Linked DNA regions of Homo sapiens: region 1 is linked to region 2. Evidence: promoter capture Hi-C in human tissues and cell types (Jung and others, 2019). All regions are on one chromosome and are shown on one strand. The core of a region is centred on a gene start or on the middle of the fragment in contact, and the rest is flanking DNA. Distances in the headings are between cores, read along the strand shown. Region 1 holds the start of DYRK1B (dual specificity tyrosine phosphorylation regulated kinase 1B). Region 2 holds the start of IFNL1 (interferon lambda 1).

What was found. Contacts are between HindIII fragments. The study calls those that stand out against the background at their distance.
Region 1: the fragment with the promoter of DYRK1B here is called in contact with the fragment with the promoter of IFNL1 in region 2 in 1 of the 25 tissues and cell types used here (stomach).

What each region holds. Positions count from the first base shown.
Region 1 is chr19:39,832,213-39,835,661 of GRCh38, reverse strand. It overlaps DYRK1B (dual specificity tyrosine phosphorylation regulated kinase 1B), which reads left to right and starts at 1,500. Exons shown (of 11, transcript NM_004714.3): 1 at 1,500-1,639. FBL (fibrillarin) reads left to right here. Exons shown (of 9, transcript NM_001436.4): 8 at 849-994; 9 at 1,100-1,204. The coding sequence ends at 1,124. RefSeq lists silencers at 1,688-1,797, 2,058-2,327. The HindIII fragment of the contact is 28,957 bases long and covers 1-3,449 here.
Region 2 is chr19:39,294,856-39,298,282 of GRCh38, reverse strand. IFNL1 (interferon lambda 1) reads right to left here and starts at 1,876. Exons shown (of 5, transcript NM_172140.2): 1 at 1,691-1,876; 2 at 1,401-1,478; 3 at 176-319; 4 at 1-70. The coding sequence starts at 1,861. The HindIII fragment of the contact is 11,779 bases long and covers 1-2,979 here.

The sequences.
Region 1 (3,449 bases), core at 251-2,750, 540 kb before region 2:
GAGCCACTGCACCCAGCCAAAAACTTTCATTAAGCCTTTTATCACATTTCCTAAACCCGAGTGTCTTAGCCCATTTTATGCAGCTATCACAGAATGCTATAGACTGGGTAATTTATTTATTTTTATTTTTATTTTTATTTTTTTGAGATGGAGTCTTACTCTGTCACCAGGTTGGAGTGCAGTGGTACGATCTCGGCTCACTGCAACCTCCAGTTCCTGGGTTCAAGCGATTCTCCTGCGTCAGCTTCCCGAGTAGGTGGGACTACAGGTGTGCGCCACCACACCCGACTAATTTTTGTATTTTTAGTAGAGATAGGGTTTCACCGTGTTGGCCAGGATGGTCTCAATCTCCTGATTTCGTGATTGAGCCACCTCGGCCTCCCAAAGTGCTGGGATTACAGGCGTGAGCCACCACGCCCAGCCTTAGACTGGGTAATTTATAATGAATGGAAATTTATTTGGCTCCCAGTTCCAAAGGCTGGAAAGTCCAAGATTGGAGGTCTGAATCTGGCGAGGGCCTTCTTGCTGTCATCCATTGGCAGAAGGGTGAGAGCAAGATAGAAAGGGGGCATAATCATCCTTTTAATCAGCAACCCACTCTTGTGATAATAGCATTACTCTATTCAGGAAGGCAGAGGCCTCATGACCTGAATCATCTCTCGAAGGTCCCACCTCTCAACTCTTGCATTTAAGGGTTACGTTTCCAACACATGAACTTTGGGGGACACACTAGAACCATAGCACTGAGTTTTACTTGAATTAATAATGAAAACATCTGGTTTAAAGAGCACACAAGAGAAAAACAGCCCAAAGCCCTGTTGTAGACATTAGTCCTTTCTCCTCTTTAGGCCAACTGCATTGACTCCACAGCCTCAGCCGAGGCCGTGTTTGCCTCCGAAGTGAAAAAGATGCAACAGGAGAACATGAAGCCGCAGGAGCAGTTGACCCTTGAGCCATATGAAAGAGACCATGCCGTGGTCGTGGGAGTGTACAGGTGAGCAGGGGCCCAGCAATACACCAAGACAGACATCTCTGTCCCTTGCACCCCGAGTGCCATGATCCTGGGGACCCTCCTTCATCACCTATCTTCCTCTCACAGGCCACCCCCCAAGGTGAAGAACTGAAGTTCAGCGCTGTCAGGATTGCGAGAGATGTGTGTTGATACTGTTGCACGTGTGTTTTTCTATTAAAAGACTCATCCGTCTCCCATGTCTGCTGCTCATTCCTCCCCTTGACCTGCTGACACAGGGAGCACGCACCCTTGGTCAATTTTGCGGGGTTGGGTAAATTCTCACTCGGTCACAGAGCGCATGCTCCGTTTCTAGCTGCCTTTGCGCAGCGGCAGCCTGGATTTCGGTTCTTGGGTGGGATTGGTAGCTCGCTGCGCATGCGTGCAGGTAAGCGGCCATCTCGCGCAGGCGGAGTGTCAGTGTGGGTCACGTGAGGGGAGCGGAGAGGGAGGGATGGGGGCGGAGTCCAGGGCGTGGGGGGGCCGGTTTGTTGTGGTCGCCATTTTGCTGGTTGCATTACTGGGTAATCGGGGCCCTGGCTTGCCGCGTCCGCCGGATACCCTCAGCCAGTGGGCAGGTCTGAGCTCGGGCTCCCCGAGCAGTTTGAGTCCCCTTGCCCGCTCCTTCAGGTAACGGCGCGGGGACGGGTGGGGCGGCAAGCGGTCGCAGGGAGGTGGGCAGGACGGGATCCGCCCTGCTCCCGTCGCCGTGAGACTTAGCACGAGGCCAAGGGAGGAGAGGAGGGGGGTGGCAGGCAGGTGCGGGCCCTGCCTGGCTATTCATAGTTGAATTCCTGGAACCGGCCAAGCCCGAGGAAGCAGTTGCAGGAGGGAGGCTGGGAGGGGGTAGCCGGGCCCCACTCCCGCCCTTTGTTTGGGCTCAGCTCCGCGGGCCGCTTCTTCGTCGCCTAGCAACAGCTGCCCTAGGCTGTGATTGGCTGAGCTCTTGGCACCAGCGACCAATGGTACAGTTGTTGCCATGGCAGGTGCCGATTGCCAAGCTCAGTCGGGCCCCGCCTTCCGGTCTCAGCAGGCCCAGGAGGGCCTCCTGGGTGGGGGGCGGGACGCCGGGTCCCTAGGGGCTGGTGGTCACTCAGGGTGGGGCGTGTCGCCCCTCCCCCGTCCACCTGCTCTACTCTTCCCCCGCGTGCCCTGGGCTGACCCTTGTCCCCTCCTCTCCCCGCCCCCGGTGGCAGTGGCGGCTGCTGTTGTCACCCACCGGGCCTCCTGTCCCGCTTGCCCTCCCCGCCGCGGGGCCGGCCGGGCCAGAGACAGGCGGTCGCCTTTTCAGCGCCGCCACCGCCGCCATGCTGGCCGCTCGCCCACCCCACTGGGGGCCCCACCGCGCCCCAGCCCCCCGTGGGCCCCGCGCCAGCCCTGACCCGGGTAGGGGGTGGGGGCTGGGAGAGATGATCCTGGTGTGGGAGGGCCCCGGAGAAGAGGTGGTTTTTTGGGGGAAGCTCCAAGGGTGGAGGAGTCGTGGAGTGGCAAGGCATGGAATAGGAGAAAGGGATTTGACATGGGGGAGAGAGTGGCCCATGGGGAGAAGATTTTTGCTGTAGCTGACAACTCTGGGAGGAGAGAACCCTATGTGATAACTTGGGGATTTGACTTTGAGGCCCTCTAGGAGTGGACACAGTTGTGGAATGACCCTGGTATAAAGAGGGGTGCCTGGAGAAAGGTCTGTGGTAGGAATATTAGGGTGTGTGTGTGTGTGTAGGGGGGCAAGGAAGCAGTGTAGGGGAGAAAAGGATGATCACTCTAAACTGTGGGAAGAGACACCTCCTCCTTCTCCCATCAGGAGGAGTGGGCCTTGATTGGGATGGGATATTGGAGTAATATGGGGAAGAACCCTGTTGTGGTAGGGGGAATTGGGATATGGTACAGGGAGACTACCTGGAAGGCTGGTTCCTAATATGGAGGACCTGAAATAGGGAAGCGGTCTTGGCATGATATGGAGAGGGTCCCCTAGGAAAATCGTGCCCTGGTGGATGAGAATGCTGTAGAGATAGGACTCTGTTCTATAGAGGTTCTCAGATAACTTTGGTGTGGTTGGGAGGTCCCCAAGGACGCTGATGTGGTTTTAGGGCTGCAGAGGACTCTGCTGTGGTTTGGGAGGGGAAGACTCATGTGGTTTGGGAATCCTAGAGTTCTCTGGGTTGAGGGAATCTACTGAGAAGGATAGATCTTAAAGTATTGGCCCTGGCTGTGCTACGGGCTGAGATCCTGATGTTCAGGGAAGACTACAGAAAGTGGCATCTTGTGTTAGGGGCCCTGGGGAGGGCCACGAGTAGTGAGAAAAGAATGAAGCCTACTCCTCTGCATACTGTCTGTGGTTTCTTTTTTCTTTTCCTCCTCTGAATTATTGGTGTCTTCCTGTCCTCCTTTCCCTGTGATGGCTCATATCGACCCCTGCTTGGCCCCCAATCATTGTCTTTTA
Region 2 (3,427 bases), core at 627-3,126:
CCTGGAGCCGGTGCAGCCAGTGGTGGAGGCGGCCCCGGGGCCTGGGCCCTGCTGTGGGCTGAGGCTGGATCTGTGGGCAGAAGAGGGCGGTGTGTGAGGCGGAGCCTGGGCCACCACAGGGGAAGGATGCTGCTCAGAGCCCACAGACCTGGGTGCCCGGGCCCCAAGGACTCACACAGGCCTGGAGCTGGGAGAGGATGTGGTGCAGGGTGTGAAGGGGCTGGTCTAGGACGTCCTCCAGGGCTGGGCCAGCAGCGGCCTCCAGGACCTTCAGCGTCAGGGCCAGCTCAGCCTCCAAGGCCACAGGGCGCTCCCTCACCTGAGGAGAGGTGAGAAAGAGCAGGTGAGGGAGAACAGGCAAGAAGACCCAGTTAGTGGGGACAGGTAGGCAGTCCTGGGGAAGGTCGGTGACACAGTGCATGTGGTGGGGACAGGTGAGGGGTCTGGGGAGAAGGAGACAGGAGGGGGAAGACATGAGGAAGGATACAGGTGAGGCAGGATGGTCAAGGAGGCAGGTGAGGGGATAAGTGAAATGGAGACAAATGAAAGGGGACTTACGGGGGTCACAGAAGTTCTCTGGGGCGGGGTGGGGACGGGTGAGGAGAAAGCAGGTTGGGGGCACAGTAAGAGAGGGACAGTTGCATGCACAGAGAAGAAGGGTAGGGCTGGGTGTGGTGGCTCACGCCTGTAATCCCAGCACTTTGGGAGGCCGAGGCGGGTGGATCACCTGAGGTCAGGATTTCGAGACCAAGCCTGGCCAACATAGTGAAACCCCGTCTCTGCTAAAAATACAAAAATTAGCTGGGCATCATGGCACATGCCTGTAATCCCAGCTACTCGGGAGGCTGAGGCAGGATAATTGCTTGAACCCGGGAGGCAGAGGTTGCAGTGAACCGAGATCATGCCACTGCACTCCAGCCTGGGCCATAGAGCAAGACTCTGTCTCAAAAAAAAAAAAAAAAAAAAAAAAAAGAGAAGGGTGGATGAGGGGGGAGCATGAGCTGGATGAATGTCAGTGAGAGATAATGAGGGACAGGTGACAGAGGCAGGTGAGAGGGAGAGGGGGTCAGTGTTGGGAACAGACAGGGAGAAGTGGAGCAGGACGAAAGGCACAGGTGGGCGACAGACTGGAGACATTTGGGAGAGAAATGAAGAGTGAGAGTGGAAGTGACAGGGACAGGTGAGCGAGCTAGGGAAGTGGGGCCGATGGGAGATGATAAAAGGGACCCAGGGGAAGGACAGAGTCAAGAGAGCAGTTTTGAAGTGGCAGGGGCACAGGACAGGTGAGGAGAGGTCCAAGAGAGTGAAGGACAAGGGAAACAAAGAAGGCTAAGGGGCCACTTAAGAAGAGGGGGGAGAGGGTCAAGGGAAGGGTGAAGGGGGCCTGACTTTCAGCTCACCTGGAGAAGCCTCAGGTCCCAATTCCCGGGGAAGACAGGAGAGCTGCAACTCCAGTTTTTCAGCTTGAGTGACTCTTCCTAGAGAGCAAGGGCAGGGGTTAGCCCACAGCAGGATGGCTGGAAGCTAGCTCATAGCAGCAAGGATGAAGTTGGCCTGACAGCATGGGTTTAACCCAGTGCAGAAAGGATAGAGGTTTGCCATAGTTGGAAGGCTAGAGGCTAGCCCACAGTAGAAGGGCAGTAATTGGGACACCCGTAGAAGTGGTTCATCCACAGCAACAGGAACTCACCAAGGCGTCCCTGGCCTTCTTGAAGCTCGCTAGCTCCTGTGGTGACAGAGATTTGAACCTGCCAATGTGGCAGCCCTTCCCAGTTGTGGTGGGCTTGGAAGTGGGGACAGGGCCTGCCACGGCCAAGCCTAGCACCAAAGTCACCAGCACCACGGTCCAAGCTGCAGCCATGGCTAAATCGCAACTGCTTCCCCAGCGGCATGGCTCTGCTTTTTAGCCACGCAAAATGGGCAATCCAAGATGATGTGTGTAAAGTGAAAAGGTAATTGGAAATGAGAATTTCCACTTTGACTTAAGAGGCATGAGTGGGCGGGGCCCGTCTGGGAGCCTGATGAGGGAACAGGTGTGGGCAGGGCCAAGTGAGCTGGGAGCTGCATCAAGAAGGAAAGAGAAACTGAAATCCTTAGAACTCCCTGGGCAGCTTTCAGCCAACTGGCCTCAGGGAGTCCCTGACGGAGGCTGAGATTAGGGATAAGGCTACCTGAGTGGCAGAGAGGAAGCTTCTTTTTTATTCTAAATTAGCCAGGTGTGGTGGCATGCGCCTGTGGTCTCAGCTACTCAGGAGGCCGAGGCATGAGAATCACTTGAACCCGGGAGGCGGAGGTTGCAGTGAGCCAAGATCGTGCCACTGCACTCCAGCCTGGGTGATGGAGTGAGATCCTGTTTCAAAAAAAAAAAAGCTTGTTTTTTATTTTATTGTTATTATTATTTTTTGAGACGTAGTTTTGCTCTTGTTGCCCAGGCTGGAGTGCAATGGTGCAATCTTGGCTCACTGCAACTTCTGCCTCCCGAGTTGAAGCGATTCTCCTGCCTCAGCCTCCTAAGTAGTTGGGATTACAGGTGCATGCCATCACGCCTGGCTAGTTTTTGTATTTTTAGTAGAGACTGGGTTTTACTATGTTGGTCACGCTGGCTTCGAACTCCTGACTTCAGATGATCTGCCTGCCTTGGCCTCCCAAAGTGCTGGGATTACAGGCGTGAGCCACCACCTTACTTTATTATTTATTTATTTATTTTTGTAGAGATAGGGGTCTCACTATGTTGCCCAGGCCAGTCTTGAACTCCTGGCCTTAAGCCATCCTCCTGCTTCAGCCTCGCAAAGTGCTAGTATTAAAGGCATGAGCCACTGCTCCTGGCCAAGAAGGAGCTTCTGCCATTGGTTTAAGAATGTCCCATTAACTAATTTCAGTTCATGCTCCTAATGTTTCTCTGAGTAGTTATTTTTATAATTGTGATGGTTAATTTTAGGTGTCACCTTGACTGGTTAAGTTTATCAGATAGCTGGTGATGCGTTAATTCTGGGTATGACTCTGGGGTGTTTCCAGAAGAGATTGGCATTTGAATCAATGGACTGAGTAAGGAAGACCCGTTGTTACCCAATGTGGTGGGCACCATCCAATTGGCCGAGGGCCTGAATAGAACAAAAAGGCAGAGGAAAGGAGAATTTGCTCTCTCTTATGAGCTGGGACACCCTGCACCTGCCCTTAAACATCAGAACTCCAGGCTCTTTGGTCTTTGAATGCTGGGATGTGCAGCTGGGCATGGTGGCTCACGCCTGTAATCCCAGCAGTTTGGGAGGCTGAGGCAGGTGAATCACTTGAGGTCAGGAGTTCGAGACCAGCCTGGCCAACATGGTGAAACCCCATCTCTACTAAAAATATAAAAATCAGCCAGGCGTGGTGGCACAGGCCTGTAGTCCCAGCTACTTGGGAGGCTGAGGCAGGAGTATCGCTTGAA